Linked DNA regions of Homo sapiens: region 2 is linked to region 1. The links are contacts of gene promoters, found by promoter capture Hi-C in human tissues and cell types (Jung and others, 2019). All regions are on one chromosome and are shown on one strand. The core of a region is centred on a gene start or on the middle of the fragment in contact, and the rest is flanking DNA. Distances in the headings are between cores, read along the strand shown. Region 1 holds the start of CORO2A (coronin 2A). Region 2 overlaps ANP32B (acidic nuclear phosphoprotein 32 family member B).

What was found. Contacts are between HindIII fragments. The study calls those that stand out against the background at their distance.
Region 2: a contact is called between a fragment that was not itself captured here and the fragment with the promoter of CORO2A in region 1, in 2 of the 25 tissues and cell types used here (aorta and thymus).

The regions. Positions count from the first base shown.
Region 1 is chr9:98,191,016-98,194,513 of GRCh38, forward strand. CORO2A (coronin 2A) reads right to left here and starts at 1,622. Exons shown (of 12, transcript NM_052820.4): 1 at 1,544-1,622. RefSeq lists an enhancer at 475-1,129 and silencers at 1,282-1,331, 1,402-1,951. The HindIII fragment of the contact is 8,969 bases long and covers 1-3,498 here.
Region 2 is chr9:98,009,689-98,013,284 of GRCh38, forward strand. ANP32B (acidic nuclear phosphoprotein 32 family member B) reads left to right here. Exons shown (of 7, transcript NM_006401.3): 5 at 1,583-1,701; 6 at 2,733-2,784. Among named protein-coding and RNA genes, the nearest start is that of ANP32B, 28 kb to the left of the region's middle. RefSeq lists an enhancer at 1,121-1,190. The HindIII fragment of the contact is 4,064 bases long and covers 1-3,596 here.

The DNA.
Region 1 (3,498 bases), core at 372-2,871:
TGATGACAAAGAGCTCACTACCTGTCCAGGGGCCTCCTGCCCTCTTTTGGCTGTTAAGAAAATCCCTGGGTGCAGGGCAGGTCATGAAGGGGACAAGAAAGACCAGGAGGCTGAGAAGTGATTCCTAGAAACTGCTCCCTCAAACAGGGCAGGCATCAGGGAGGTGGAGAAGAGGCCCCATGGGGCAGGAAAGGCCTGCAGAGGGGCTCCGGCTCTCCTCACTCCGGACCTCTCAGACGGTCCCCAGGAGGGGCAGGAAGCTGGGGAGACACATTCCAGTCCTGATGCACAGGTGGGTTCTGAACAAGCCCCAGGAAAGCGGAGGCCCCACAGCCTGCTCCAGGGCAGACACCTCGGCTCCCTCTTCTTGCCTTGGCTCCCTGGGATCTGATGGGAGAAACTGCTGGGCCTGGGGCTGCTGGGTCTGGAGATGAGCATATTTAAGGGACCTGACCACTGCCCCAGGGTGAGGGAGGAAGGGTCAGAGGTTGTTTGTGTGTCCAGAGCAGGACCAGCAGGAGAGGCAGTGACTGGGTAGCAGATTCCAGCTTGGTTTACAACTAGTGAGATTCCTATCACAAGGAGTGTGCAAGGGGGCAGCAAGACCTTCCAGAGGGGATCTTACAGAGGGGCTGGGCCAGATGCCATAGGTCTTCTTTACCTAGGGAGCCTGGGACCACAGTCCCTCAGACCTGTGCTCTGCCCCATCCCTTAATGCCACGCGGACACAGCACCTTGGCACTGTCACCCCTCTGAGGTCCAGGCGTGGCCGCCAGTCACCCCTTGTCACACCAGCTAGTGTGTGTCACACCTTATCACACACTAGCTCTGGGACACAGAGCTAGGCACCAGCACCTGGCCCGGGTGGGGAAGGGGAAGGAGCTATCCTATACCACTCTCTAAATCGAGGTGCCTACGTGGGGCTGGTCCAGGCAGTCGTGCCGCCAGGAGTCCAGCCACCTCCAACCTAGGGCTCCTCCAGCCCCAGACGAGTAAACCCTCTTGGCGGGCCGGCTGATGCCCCACATGCACGCCCAGGCCGGCTTGGCGGGGACCCGGGGATGCCCCCCACCCCACCGTTTCCTGTACCAGGAAGCTGAGGCCCAGCAGGTAACGCAGCCAAGAGGGGGAGGGTCCCGACAAGAGTCCCATGGAGCACCCGGGCCACAGCAGGGGCCTGTCGGGACCGGCTGGCCGCGCCCAGAGTGAGCTTCCCTCACCGCGGGCAGGAGGGGTGGGCGGTGCAGACAGTGCTCATGAGGGCAGCGAGCCGTCGGGAGCCCGGACCTCGAGGCGGCCCCTCCCAACAACCCCGCGAGAAGGGGGCCACCAATGAGCAAGCTATCCTGACGGGGAAACTGAGGCCTGGAGAGGAGCAGTGCTTTGTGCAAGGTCACGCAAAGGGGCTGAAAGCCAGGTCCCCCGCGCTCCGAGCCCCGCATCCCTCCCTCTCCGGGAGCTGCAGCCGCAGCGCGCACGTCCCGCCCGACGCCCCCATCGCGCAGACCGGGAAGGCACGGCCGGCGGCGCAGGGCCGCCCTACCTTGATGACTGCCGCGCAGGTGGCGGTGGCGGCGGCGGCGTCCAGCTCCGGCTCCGCGCTCCTCGCCGCCCGCCGACTCCCGGCGCCCAGAGCCGCCGCCGCCTCCCCCTGCAGCCCGGCGGGCGGGGCCGGAGGGCGGGGCGGGGGCCTGGCCCAAGGTCCGCCCTTTTGCCCGCCCCGCGGGTCCGCCCTGGCCACCCTTTTCCGCCCCCACGACCCCGACCGCGCTCCTGGCTCCCCGGGGCGGGTCTCGGGGCGCGCACACGTGCTGGGAACAGGCGCGCACACGCCGCAGTGATTGGGGCGGGCTGCCGGCCACCAGGCGGAGGCTGGGGACAGGCAGAGCCGCGGGCCCCACGTCGCGCCGTGCCCTCGCTGCGTGGTGTGGGATGAGGAACCTGACCTCCCGGAGCCTCAGTTTCCCCCGTTGTGAAATGGAGACAGTAACCGCGTCGGCCTCTTAAGGCTGTTTGAGCCCTGGATGTGACGATCCCGGCCGGGTACAGTGCGCGCGCCGAGCCCGGCCAGGGAAGCGCTCCTTTCCCCGAGCAGTTACAGCGGTTACCGAGGCTTCCCCGTCCGCAGGGAGGAGAGGAGCCGGGAGCGCCGCTGGGAACCGAGGAGGACGCCCTTCCTTCTCTCGGGACCAGCCGGGGGCGCTGCTGCCAGCCTCGCTGGCTGGAGAGCCCTGAGGACACTAGACAATGGGGAGGCCCTACCTTTGGGTACCACCCCCACCTAACACTACTGAGCCACGCACTCCTCTAAGCGCCTTCTGTGCATTACCTCGCTTCACTGTCACACAGGCCTATGAGGTTGATACCATTACTCACCTATTTAACACAAAAGAGCTGAGGCACAGAGATATTAAGTACCTAGGTTAAGATCACCCGGCTAGTCATGCAACCCCAGGCAGTATGGCTCCCACGGCTACTAAGCTAACAGCCACTCCACTCCACACCACGTCTGTGAAGAGCTCTTGGTTTTGTTCAGTAGAGACGGGTTATCTTGAGGGCCTTGAACTGCTCCGTGGCACATAGTAACCACTCAATATATAGTTGTGGAGTGGATAACAGAGTACACTGTTACTACTTTACATATCTGTATCGTTTCTTCTAAGCTTCTAATAATAGTGGCTTTATTTAGCCACTATTATTACCTCCATTTTACAGATAAGAAAACTGAGGCTTGGAGTGGCAAGGTACTTAGGGAGCTCTTGATTCTCTCCTTAGAATGTGACTCAGCTTCCATAGTCCACTGTACCACCCCCCTGCCCAGAGCTGGACGGGCTCCCTGCCTACCACCCAAAGCCCAGTGTGCACTATGGTCCTGAAAACCCCATCCTACAGCTCTGATTCAGACCTTCTGGAGCTGGATTGCCCAGCAGGTAGACTGAACGCATGCTTCTGGTGTTAGCGTGCAAGAGTTGGGTATCAAGCATATGGATGGCTGGGCGCAGTGGCTCATGCTTGTAATCCCAGCACTTTGGGAGGCCAAGGCAGGTGGATTGCTTGAGCTCAAGAGTTCAAGACCAGCCTGGCCAACATGGTGAAAACCTGTCTCTACTAAAAATACAAAAATTAGCCGGGCGTGGTGGCATGTGCCTATAGTTCCAGCTACTTGGGAAGCTGAGGCAGGATAATCACTTGAACCTAGGAGGTGGAGGTGGCAGTGAGCCGAGATCACATCACTGCACTCCAGCCTGGGCTACAGAGTGGGACTCTGTCTCAAACAAACAAACAAACAAACAAACATATGGATGAAATCAGAACATTGTGGGAATTCTTTATAATCATGGTTTGGTTTTTACTTGAATTACAGCTGGACGGTGGGCACCATGATCTTTCCCAGGCTAAGGCATCTGAATAACTTTGTTGTTGTTGTTTTTGCATGGTTTTGTTCTGTCGCCCAGGCTGGAGTGCAGTGGCACAATCCTAGCTTGCTGCAGCCTCCAC
Region 2 (3,596 bases), core at 417-2,916, 180 kb before region 1:
AGTACCAGTCCTGGGAGTTGGGAACCCCTGGTTTGGAGGAAGCAGAATGATTAGTTTTCACATCAGTCAGCATGAGTATTTCTTTTCTTTAAAAATTAGCACATATGACAGAAATTATCAAGAAAATAGAGGAGGAAAAGCATCAAGGAGTTTGGGTGCAGTTAATGGTATAATTCTCTGGAAGCATTTTTACAGTTTTATTTTGAAGCATATTGAGACAGGCAAAAATTAATGAGTTATAAGGTGGTAAAATGGACAGAGAATAGGACATCTCACTTATTTCCAAATGTTATGTCCCTTTGTCCCTTCTACAGTTTTTCCATTTTTCCTAAAAACCATTTGTGCTTGTTGTCTATTTAAGTTCACCTCAAACAGGAAGAACAGCCACATGTGCAAGAGCCAGTAAAGGACATTCCTTGGAAGGTGGGGGGCAGTTCCTGAGAGCAAAGATGGGTCAGCCAACAAATACTTGAGCATTTCCTATGTGCCAGGCACTGCGGAAAATAGTGGTTTAAAAAAAAAAGGAACAAAAAAACAAGGTTCCTACCCTCTTGGACCTTACAGAGAAATGGTGTTTTTTTTTTTTTGTTTTTTTTTTTTAAATCATAAATAGGCTAGGTATGGTGGCTCACACTTGTAATCCCAACACTTGGGGAGGGTGAGGCAGGATGATTGCTGGAATCCAGGAGTTCAAGACCAGCCTGGGCAACATAGACAAACCCTATCTGTACAGAAAAAATTGTTTTAAATTAAGAATTCTAAATAATAATTGCAAGTAAGCAAAGTGTGTTGTAATGGAGAAGCACCACATACTCATGGTGAGAGCCTATGACCTGGCATTGGGAGGTCTGGTGAGTAAGACTGCCTAAGGAAGTGATGTTGACTGAGACTCCAAGGTGGAGTCAGAGTTAGCCAAGCAAAGAGGATGGAAAGAGCATGCAGAGACCAGGAGGCAGGTGAGAGCATGGTGTGCTCTAGGACCCAGGAGAAGCAAGAACTGCCGCACTAGAGGTCCGAACAACCAGCTAGAGATGCAGGTGCCTCTCAGCCTCCTGTCCCCTGAGTCACAGGGTTATTATGGGTGTTTCTCAGGTTCCTGATTTGAGCAGCTGACTGTGACTCTGGTAATGATACCCAAGAGAAGGTACATGATTTTTTTTTTTTTAACTTTTTACTGTCAAAAATTTCAGACAGTGACAAAGGGTAAAAATAATAGCAAAATGAACCCCCATGTTCTTATCACTCAGCTTCAGCAATTATTGGTCATAGCTGATCTTATTTTATTCCTGCATACCCTTACCTTCTTCCCCACTCCATATAATTTTGAAGCAAATCTTAGCCATTGTATCATTTCATCAGCGAGAATTATAGTGTTTGTCTTATCTACCAGGACTTCTAGCTCTCTGATTTTATGGGACTCTATCGGACAAAGGGACTGAGCTGTAGCACATAGTAGAAAGAAAGTGACTGCAGTTCGTGGCCTTACAGCATTTGTTCTGTGAGCCAGCCCACAGATCCTCAACACTTTGTCCCCTGTGGAGCGTCGAGGATATTTAATGAATCCCTTTTGGACTATTTTTAGAAGGAGAAGATGAGGAAGACGAGGACGATGAGGATGGTGAAGAAGAGGAGTTTGATGAAGAAGATGATGAAGATGAAGATGTAGAAGGGGATGAGGACGACGATGAAGTCAGTGAGGAGGTCAGTGCAGCTGTTTTCTACCCTGCTTCCTATTTGTAATTACAACAAAAGTGGGGGTTTCAAAAAGATGACAAAAGAAAAGAAAAAACACCTTTTGAAGAAATTAGTATACCTGTGAATACATTTACAATATGAATCTGGTTAATTTAGTGTTTGTCTGGCTTTAAATAACTACTAAATAGAATGCCTACTGAACTCAAACTAGTACGGTTCCTGGCTGTGCAAGGTAAGTTCTGGCCCTCTGGGGGAAGGAATGAATTGAGTATTCAGTGTGGTGAGAAAACTGGACATGTTGAGAATTGATGGTATGTCTGTTCCTTCATTGAATTGTAGGGAAGTTTATGTTTACCAAGTCTAAACTTTTTCTTGTATATTCAGTGTAATTCAGTAAATATATATCTGCTATGTTAAAGAGTTGGGAGTACAAAATGAAATGAGATTGTGGTCCTGCCCTGAAAGAGCACAGTCTGGTTTATGAAATACCCAATAATAGAGGATCCCTGAGGAAATAAATGCTATACGAGGGCAGGAGAAAACAGTGTCTTGACTTTGACCCTCAAAGAGGTTTGGGAAACAGGCAGACAACATTAGTTGTTAACAAAACGCATCCTCTTTTGTAGTATAAAAATAAGGCTTGGGGTTTGTGTGATGTCATTAGGTGTATGATTGACATTAAAGTTCTGAAAGAAGCTTTGTATATGAATGGGATATAGAAATTTTTGTCTAAATCTGTTTTGAAATTTGAGATTTTAAGATGTTTTCTTGAATTATCCAGAGTTATATACTAATTAAACATCTAGCAAATGAACTGCTTGCTTCTAAAAAAAATTTTTCTTAGAAAAATTATAAAGCTCGTTAAGGAAAATCAGTGGGTCTTGGTACATCAAAGTAGATAAAAATAACATTACAGTTTCCTGCTTGATTGATATTGTTGCATTTATTTGTACTTCTTAGTTTGGCAGAATTTGTACTATATGCACTTTTCAATTTGGCAGAATTAATTTAATGTTATGCTGTTTGCTATTCTTTAGGAAGAAGAATTTGGACTTGATGAAGAAGATGAAGATGAGGATGAGGATGAAGGTGGGCCTAATGCATGCATTTTGATCATTCTCAGTTAAAAATTAGAGAAAAACATCCATTATTTAGAATATGATACCACTGAGAAGAAAATAAAATACTCTTGGCTCTGGTGGTTTACACATTCACATTCTCGTTTCTATCGTCCCATCAGTGTGTCTGTGCTGGTGCAGGCTCCCTGCTGCTACAGCAGTTATTCCTGTCTCATGGCAAGGGTCCTGTTGGTCTTCAGTCCTCATGGGGTTTTTTTCGGGGTGGTGGTGGTGGTGGTGGTGTTTTGAGACGGAATCTCGCTCTGTTGCCCAGGCTGGAGTGCAGTGGCACGATCTCGGCTCACTGCAAGTTCCGCCTCCTAGGTTCAAGCCATTCTCCTGCCTCAGCCTCCAGAGTAGCTGGGGCTACAGGCGCCTGCCACCACGCCCAGCTAATTGTTTGCATTTTTAGTAGAGACGGGGTTTCACCGTGTTAGCCAGGATGGTCTCAATCTCCTGACCTCGTGGTCCACCCGCCTCAGCCTCCCAAAGTGCCGGGATTACAGGCGTGAGCCACCACACCCGGCCTGTTGTTTTCTTGAGATGGAGTCTTGCTCTGTCGCCCAGTCTGGAGTTCACTGGTGCAATCTAAGCTCACTGCAGCCTCCACCTCCCAGGTTCAAGGGATTCTCTGCCTCAGCCTCCTCAGTAGCTGGGATTACAGGCATGCACCACCACACTTGGCTAATTTTTGTATTTTTAGTAGAGACAGGGTTTTGCCATGTTGGCCAGCCTGGTCTTGAATTCCTGGCTGAATTCAAGTGATCCACCCACCTCGGCCTC